2 separate regions of the Homo sapiens genome follow, and region 2 is linked to region 1. Evidence: promoter capture Hi-C in human tissues and cell types (Jung and others, 2019). All regions are on one chromosome and are shown on one strand. Each heading gives the region's core, a stretch centred on a gene start or on the middle of the fragment in contact. The rest is flanking DNA. Distances are from core to core; before and after follow the strand shown.

Region 1 (4,564 bases), core at 1,389-3,888:
CAAAGAAAGGTGGAGGGGAAAGAGATTCTAAACAGCTGTCCTGTGGGAAGGCCAAGGGCCTGCCTCCCCCACCACCCCCACCACCTCCACCACCCCCACCACCCCTGGGCAGCAGCCAAGGGCTGATGAGGCACTAGGGAGAGAATGAACCCAGCACAGGCAGCAGGGGCAGGGCCCCAGCACAGGCAGCCCTTTGTGACCACGGACCCACATACACTTACCAGGGGCCCTGGTGGGTGGTGGGAGTGACACTGTTTGGCTCCGGCTGCAGCTTCTTTGAGAACTTGTCCAGCAGCTCAGCCTTCTCTAAGAGATGGTTATCTGGAGAGTGCAAGAGAGTGAGCCTGGGGCAGAGACAGATACCCAGCAGCCCCCTGGCATGCAATTTATCTCCGGCTAAAAGGGCTGAAGGAGCCCAGAGATGCTAGGGATGGGGAAGCTTCTGGCAGGCTGGCCTCTGCCCTGTGCCTGAGGGGCATCTGTGCAGTTCTACAGGACCTTCAGCCCTAGCAGTGTCCTCATAGCACCGGTCCCCAGGCCCACGTGGAAGAGGACCTGCTCTCCCAGGGACAGAAGGATGACCACTGCGGGGTACTGCCCGCTGAGGGTCCTGAGGGAAGGAAGGGGCCTGGGATTGATTCATCCCTGCCTCAGAGCAAGGCTTAGCCCCAGAAAGTGATGAAATAAACCGAGCTCTACCTGTCAATGGCCTTTGGCAAGTCACTTCCCCTCCAAGGGCTCTAGCTTTCTGCACTTAAAAATAATCCCCAGCCGGGCGCGGTGGCTCACACCTGAATTCCCAGCGCTCTGGGAGGCCGAGGCGGGCGGATCACGAGGTCAGGAGATCGAGACCATCCTGGCTAACACGGTGAAACCCCCATCTCTACTAAAAAATACAAAAAATTAGCCAGGCGTGGTGGCAGGCGCCTGTAGTCCCAGCTACTCGGGAGGCTGAGACGGGAGACAGGCGTGAACTTGGGAGGCAGAGCTTGCAGTGAGCGGAGATCACACCACTGCACTCCAGCCTGGGCAACAGAGCAAAGACTCCATCTCAAATAAATAAATAAATAAATAATCCCAACTTCCCCAGCCCTGGTGTAAGGTACCCCCAGGCCAGAATAGAAAGTCCTTGAGCAATTATCCAGCCGACATTCTGGAGGTTGGTGGTTTGACCCTGGAACACCCTCCCCCATCAACAGTCACTTCCTCTTTTCTCACCAGTTCCAGGGGAGGGTGGGGTGGTAAGTCCGGGCCTAGCTCCCTCCTCATCAACTTCCTTCCCACACTCAGTGCCCTGTCACCTTGACTGAGGCCCTGGGCCTGGCCTAGTTCTCATGAAAACCCCACCTCAGCCCCCAGGGTACTGCAGCACCCAGCAAACCTAAAGAAGGTCTCTATACCCAATTAACAAGTAAGAAGACTGAGGCTTAGCGATGTGATCTGCCCAAGGTTTCAAGACTGGCCCTTCAGTCTGATTTCAGCCCTCCAGATCTCTCTAGTCCCTCAGACTCACAGCTCCCTGGGTCGGGGCGGGGGGCAGGGGTTGGGGGGGCGGTGACCCCCTCCCTCAAACTGGACGGTTCCACTGTCTGTCTGAGCAGTGGAGAAGTGTGGCTGCTGGAGGTGGGGGCTGGCCTCGCAACCCTGAAGGTAGAGGACCAGCAGCCTGGAAGCTTGCAGAGAAATTTTCCTGGCTAAGAGCAGATTTGATTGTGGGGGTTTGGCCAAGATTAGCCCCAGTGAGAGAGCCGCAGGGATTGTGGTTAGACTTCCAACCACAGACATACAATCGCAGGCGGCCAGAGGTGCGACACACAGGCACACCTGTTCATCCCCTCTTGAAATGCCACACCCTATCCTGACCAGCTGCCCAGAAACAATTCTGAGAGTCCGACTTCGCTGGGCTCAGCCAGCATCCACCAGCAGCCCGGGGCCCCCTGATGCCCCCTCAGGCTGGGTAGGCTGACAGGGAGGTGTTCCATAAGCCTGTGCCAGCGTCGCCTGTCAGCGGCAGAGCCTGAGATGCACAGCCTCCTCCTTAGAGGTTCCGAGTGTCGCCCCTCTCCGGATGGGCCAATAAGTGGCTGCTCTGGACAAGTCCCGCGTTCTTTCACTGCGCTACCGAGACTAAGTGCACTGATCAAGCCCCTACCCCGGGGACTGCCCGGGTGGGGAGGCAAAAGAGACCCTGCAAAACCAACACCCGAGGACGCACTTGCGTCTCGGAAGCCCAGCTTGTGGGAGGCAGAGCCCGTCCTGAGGGGCGACGAGGGCAGGGGGACCAGGAGGGGCTCGTCCAGGTTCTAACCAGAGCCTGGATGGCAAGGGGCGGAGTCCTGGCAGTCGGGATGGGCGTAACGCACAGGCTCAAGGCATAAGGCACAGCGCACTCGGGTCACAGGCGGAGGAGCCAGCCAAACCCTCTCCCCGCGCCCGTAGCCGCGTCCCCTCAGCCGCCATCCTCTCAGCACCGGGGCGCACTCACAGGCCGGCACCAGCTCCAGGAAAAGCGCCTTTTGCGTACGGTCCCGAAGCCGCAGCTGCCGCACGATGTGGCGTTTCCAGCGCGCTGCGGGGGCACCGGGGACGCCCGGCCCCGCCATGGCCGCGCTCTCCCGCCTAGCGGCGCGTTCCTCCCGCCCAGGACGGCGCCAGGCCGGGGCGGGGCCTCGCGGGGACTCCGTGACGCCAGGGGGCGGGCGGCGGCGGGGAATCCCCGGCTTGTCCCAAGAGGGCTTTGGCGGGGAGGACCGAAGGCCGACGCCGGGAGGATCTGCCTCCGGGAGGAGCCGCCTCCGGGTCTGAACCGCCGGGGCCCCGTCCGAAATGTTCACCTAAGTGGGGGCTCCTGTGGCTGCGAGGGTCATAAGCAGGAGCGAGGTCGGAGCCTCCGGGGAGGCTTCCCCCACGCGGGTGGAGCGCTCCGGAGGCGGGGCCCTCAAGGCCCGGGTGTCTTAACCCCGCCGCGCCCGGGCCGAGTTCGAGAGCCGCTGGTGCTTCCCAGGCCGTCGCGCTCCTGGCCGCGCACCCAGCCAGGGACCCAGAGGCCCTCAGCCCCGGGCTCTGCGCGTACACTGAGGGCGCGGCGCAGCAGGACAGCAAGATAAGGAAGCAGAGACTGAAGGGAGGAATCCCCGCTTTCCGGGGATGATGGCGTTCGAGTTGGGTCTGTGAGGGATGAAATAGGAGTTGGCCAGAGGGAGAGAGGGACTCTAGGCCTCGAGAAGAGCACGTGCAGAGGTTCCGTGACACGAAAACGCCAGGTGGGTGCGGGGCTGGGAGGACAGGAGGCAGAAGGGTTTACGGCTCCACATGGTCGCCGAAATTTTAGGTCCCTGAGAGTAAAGGGGTGCAGCTGATTTCATCTAGAAAGCCCCTGGCCGGGAGGAGAGAACGAGCTTGCTTGCCTGGGGTTGCAAAGGAGTGGGTAGCTGAGACGGCCAGCACCCCAGCATCCTGACTCAGGGCCAGACGCTTCACCCCATTGGGCGGCGTCTGGAGGAGCAGACACATCTCTTGTGGGTACCCTCGAAAGTGAATCATGGGTCGCAGGGAACTGTGGTCAAACCGTCTCTAGCTAGATGCTAGAGAGCCAGCTCTGCAGGCTCAGGCTACTGTGAGACACGAAAGGAGGGACTCGCTGGGCACAGCCTCACCCTGGGGCATGCCAGCAGGCCCTGCCCTCTGAGTGTTGGCAGACTTGAACATCCCTAGGGAACGAGAGAAGTTGGGCAACGATGGGAGAGCAGTGCAGGCCCTGGAGGTGACGAGTCTGTTGAGATTCTGATGGGGATGGGTCAGAGGACGTAGAAAGCAGTGAAGGCCTAGACGCCCCCAGGTCAGTGTAGCCTGCTCTGCTTCCAGTGAGCTGGGCTCAGTCCCCCACATGTCATTGTCTTAGACGCCCATGGCCTTTGCACAGGCCGAGCCTGATGTTTGGAACATCGTCGCCTCTAGGGGGCCTGGCTCCTAATCATGCATCACCTCCTCCAGGAGAACTTTCCTGCCCCTACACTGAGTTCAAGCTTCTCAGACACCAGCCCCAGTTGAGTTCGAGTTATAACCGTCACCAGTTATCACACCATCCTGTAATCTGTGCGGTGCCCCTTAGGGCAGGACCTGGGTCCTAGATGTCTCTGTACCTCTAGCCCCAAACCAGGCCTGACCTGTCTCTTGAAGGAGTATTTGTGTTGAAGATGGGTGGTAACGTTCAGCAAAAGCCATGCCCAGGAGACAGGCACAGTACCCATGGAGACCCAGGGCCAGCTGATGACAGTGATGAATTCCCTTTAGAACTGGCGGACTCTTGGGTGCTTGGAGACACTATATAAATAAGGAACTCTGGCTGTGTGCATGGGAGAGTATATTAACAGGGCTTGGCCTGGCTGTGAGGTGCAGAGATGCCGTTTCTCTCAGGTAAGGAGCCATATTGGGGCAGGGGTTTCCTAATCCTTTTTTGACTCACAAAATACACCTAGGAAATGTTAAATAAATAGTCATTTTTGAGTAGTATATGATAAAGAAGTGATTGATTTTGACTAAAAATATTCATGTTCTATTTTTA
Region 2 (4,313 bases), core at 1,045-3,544, 310 kb before region 1:
CCCATTTCCAGTTTACTCCTAGAGGTTCCCATAAAAGTATTAAAAAATGCATTGGAGTTAGATTATGAGGGCTATCACTGGAACTCCAGTTGTCCCAAGCTGACTGGTAATTAGAGACTCCATAGAAATTATTTGTATTCCCTCTTCCCAATTCCTTTTGAATTAAGTATGTCAGGTTAGGAGTAGGTTTTTGTATTTTGGCCTCTTAGGATTCTCCTCCCAATCTTACCACTTCAGTCTTCTGATAATTTGGAGAAATGGTGGTCAAAGGGCCCGCAGGCAATTGTGTTCTCAGTGAACCTTTTTTTTTTTTTTTTTTGAGATGGTCTTATTCTGTTGCCCAGGCTGGAGTACAGTGGTGTGATCTCACAACGCCTGGCTAATTTTTTGTATTTTTAGTAGAGACGGTGCTTCACTATGTTGGCCAGGCTGGTCTCAAACTCTTGACCTTGACCTCAGGTGATTCCCACCCCCGCCCCCCAACCCAAAGTGTTGGGATTACAGCTTGAGCCACTGCACCCAGCTGTGAACTTCTTTTTACTTCTCAGGTGAAGGCATTAGTGAAGTGCCTAAATTTAAAGGAGGGAAGGCCATATAAAGAGTTTTAATCACCCTTAGCTGAATAATTTGCCCCTTAATAATTGATGATTGGCAATTTACTCTTGAGAGTATCAAGTCTGAAGCTGTTTATCTGAGGAGGCCTGTAAGTTGATGGTTTTCTTTGTAAATTCTCCAGATGTTCATTTGAGCCCCACAGATGCCATTCTATGTTGTTGGTATCAGTCTTCAGGGGTGATCTGATGCATAAGCAGGGGTTAGTTTTGTAAGTCTGGCTCGTGTTCTTGGCTTTTCAGTAACTAATTAGGGATCTAGGCACAGAAACTTGTAACCCTGTCCTTTGTCCCACTGCTGCAGATGTTCTGTCAGTGTTGATCGGGAGTAATTTATGGAACCTTAGCTGGTATTTTTGTTAATTTCATTTTGTTAGGTCCTTTCAATATTCCTTGATCGTGCTTTGTTTTAACATTCCATTTGATCTTTTTGGCATTCATGTGGGAATCCTTTGTCATCCAGATGTTTTCTGTTTTGTGAGCTTGGAAATAATCCCAATTTAATAAGAAAATGTTATTTCTGGTGTTATGAAAAGTGTTACCATGTCTGTGGTTCCACAGAAACAAGTTGGAGTATATATTATATATGTCTCCTGATTGTATTTTAGTGATAATTGTTTTTCCTCTTACTGGTGATTGGAGGATGGGAGCAAGGGACAGAGACTCTTTTTGTTGTTTGCTTTTGAGACAGAGTCTTATTCCATCCCAGGCTGGAGCACAGTGGTGCAATCTCGGCTCACTGCAACCTCTGCCTCCCGTGTTCCAGCAATTCTTGTGCCTTGGCCTCCTGAGTAGCTAGGATTACAGGTGTGCAACACGATGCTCGGCAAATTTTTTTATTTTTCATAAAGATAGGGTTTTGCCATGTTGGTCAGGCTGGTCTTGGACTTCTGACCTCAAGTGATCCACCTGCCTTGGCCTCCCAAAGTGCTGGGATTACAGACGTGAGCCACTGCACCCAGTCTAAGCTTTTTATTGTATGTTCTTTTTTGTGTATTTTGAATTTTAAACTATGTGAATATTATGCTCAAAACTAAAATTTAATGATTCAGTAATATTGGTAAACATTTTATTGCATGTCTGTTAAGCATAACAGATATTTAACAGATATTATAAAAGTTCGTATTAGTTGATGCTAAAATGCCATTTTTGGCTTTTAATTAGTTTTTAGTGAAGCTATTTTCATTATTAATAGACTTTAAAATTTATTTCTAATATGTACAAGTATTAAGAATACTTGATTTACAAACTTTTCTTCATAAAGTGATTGGTTTCCAGTTGGTTGTAGCACAAAGTTGGGAAAACAAGCTTTATGTACTACTGTATTCCTTTCTTTCTGTATTGTGGAATTTTTTTTTTTTTTTTTTTTTTTTTTTTTTTAAGATGGAATCTTGCCCTGTTGCCCAGGCTGGAGTGCAGTGGCGTGATCTCAGCTCACTGCAACCTCTGCCTCCCAGGTTCAAGCGATTCTCCTGCCTCAGCCTCCCAAGTAGCTGGGATTACTGGTACCCATGACTATGCCTGGCTAATTTTTGTATTTTTAGTAGAGATGGGATTTCACCATGTTGGCCAGCCTGGTCTCGAACTTCTGACCTTGTGATCCGCCCACCTCGGCCTCCCAAAGTGCTGGGATTACAGGTGTGAGCCACCGCACCTGGCCGTGGAATTCTTTTGTCTTGAAACAAGCAAACATATTAGATAGAGTCTTGCCTAATGTCAAATTTCATTTTAGCTGCCTTTATCCAAAGGTTTTATATCATAGCCATCAATTAAAACATTGTTTCTGTTGTGAAATGTAGTTTTGCATTAGCCAGCTCTCTCCATGGAAGAATGGTTTGCTCTGTTTTACTAAAAGAAGTGTTTTATATAATAGTTTTTCTTAGTTACATTGAATCAATTGAAATTGTTAGTATTCCATTTTCTTTCTTTCTTTTTTCTTTTTCTTTTTGCATTTGTTAGCTATTCCTCTGTTTTTAAAGTGGTCATTCTAAGATATGACATTGTGTTTTTTTTTGTCTTGAGACAGGGTCTCTGTTGTCTGGGCTAGGTTATAGTGGTGCGGTCATGGCTCACTGCAGCCTTAACCCCTTGAGCTCAAACAGTCCTCTTGCCTCAGCCTCCTGAGTAGCTCAGACTACAGATGTGTGCCACTATGCCTGGCTAATTTTTTAAATTCTTAGTAGAGACAGGGTCTTACTATGTCTCCCAGGCATCATTGAACTGTGGAGCTCAAGCAGTCCCCCTTCTTTGGCCTCCCAAAGTGCTGGGATTATAGGCATGAGCCACCACACTCGATCTACACCATGCATTCTTAATTTATCACTGTCTACTTAGAGTTAATATTGTACCATTCCACATACGACCTTACAATGGTCTAATTACAGTTATTCCATCCCAGACTTTGTGCTGCTTATAAACCTCGTAATATAATGTTAGTTTTCTTTAAACAGGTATCTTTTAAAAAGATTAAGAGAAGGAAAAAAGTCTTATATTTACTAATCCTGACTCTTCTTTCCTTCCTGAAACCAACATACAGGTTTGAGTTTCCATCTGTTATCATTTTCTTTCAGCTTAAGGAACTTCCTTCAGCATTTCTGGTGCAATTCTGCAGCTTTTGACACTTCTCTTAGCTTTCATATGTCTGAAAATGTCTTTATTTCACCCTCACTTTGGGAAGATATTTTTGCTGGATATAGAATTCTGAGTTGGTCACTCCAGTGTCTTCTGGCTTTCATTATTTCTGATGAGAAGTTAGCTCTTACTTATAGACTTGTTCACATCTATGGAATGTGCTTTCCCTTGCTCTAATAGCTTTTTTCTCTTTATCTTTGGTTTCCTACAGTTTGAGTGTAATGTGACTAGTATAGTGTCTGTAATTATCTTGTTTGGGGTTCATCATTCAATGGTTGATGCTTTTCATGAAACCTGGGAAACTTCTGGCCATTGTTTCCTTTTTTTTTTTTTGAGACAGAGTCTCACTCTGTTGCCCAGGCTGGAGTGCAGTGGCGTAATCTCAGCTCACTGCAACCTCCGCCCCCTTGGTTCAAGTGATTCTCCTGCCTCAGCCTCCTGAGTAGCTGGGATTAGAGGCACACGCCATCATGCCCAGCTAATTTTTGTATTTTCAGTAGAGGCGGGGTTTCACCATGTTGGCCAGGCTGGTCTCGAACTCCTGACCTCTGGTGATCCACCTACCTTGGCCTCCCAAAGTGCTGGGATTACAGGTGTGAGCCACTGCGCCTGGCCCATTATTTCTTCAAATATTTTTTTTCTGCCCCATTCTCTCTCTTCTTTTTTTAAAATTATTATTATTATACTTTAAGTTCTAGGGTACATGTGCACAATGTGCAGGTTTGTTATATATGTATACATGTGCCATATTAGTGTGCTGCACCCATTAACTCGTCATTTACATTAGGTATGTCTCCTAATGTTATCCCTTCCCCGTCCCCCCATCCCACAATAGGCCCTGGTGTGTGATGTTCCCCATCCTGTGTCCAGGTGTTCTCATTGTTCAATTCCCATCCATGAGTGAGAACATGCGGTGTTTGGTTTTCTGTCCTTGCAATAGTTTGCTCAGAGTGATGGTTTCCAGCTTCATCCATGTCCCTACAAAGGACGTGAACGCATCCTTTTTTATGGCTGCATAGTATTCCATGGTGTGTATGTGCCACATTTTCTTAATCCAGTCTATCATTGATG

What was found. The method cuts DNA at HindIII sites, captures the fragments that hold promoters and counts their contacts. A contact is called where the count stands out against the background at its distance.
Region 2: a fragment that was not itself captured here is called in contact with the fragment with the promoter of ATG16L2 in region 1 in 2 of the 25 tissues and cell types used here (IMR-90 fibroblasts and dorsolateral prefrontal cortex).

The regions. Positions count from the first base shown.
Region 1 is chr11:72,812,485-72,817,048 of GRCh38, reverse strand. It overlaps ATG16L2 (autophagy related 16 like 2), which reads right to left and starts at 2,638. Exons shown (of 18, transcript NM_033388.2): 1 at 2,486-2,638; 2 at 222-321. The coding sequence starts at 2,603. It overlaps LOC107984421 (a long non-coding RNA gene), which reads left to right and starts at 2,982. Exons shown (of 3, transcript XR_007062771.1): 1 at 2,982-4,416. RefSeq lists enhancers at 1,866-2,015, 4,026-4,155, 4,316-4,375 and silencers at 2,546-2,995, 3,396-3,485. The HindIII fragment of the contact is 4,089 bases long and covers 1,057-4,564 here.
Region 2 is chr11:73,124,018-73,128,330 of GRCh38, reverse strand. The region is part of intron 2 of FCHSD2 (FCH and double SH3 domains 2); the gene reads left to right. Among named protein-coding and RNA genes, the nearest start is that of FCHSD2, 16 kb to the left of the region's middle. The HindIII fragment of the contact is 4,053 bases long and covers 268-4,313 here.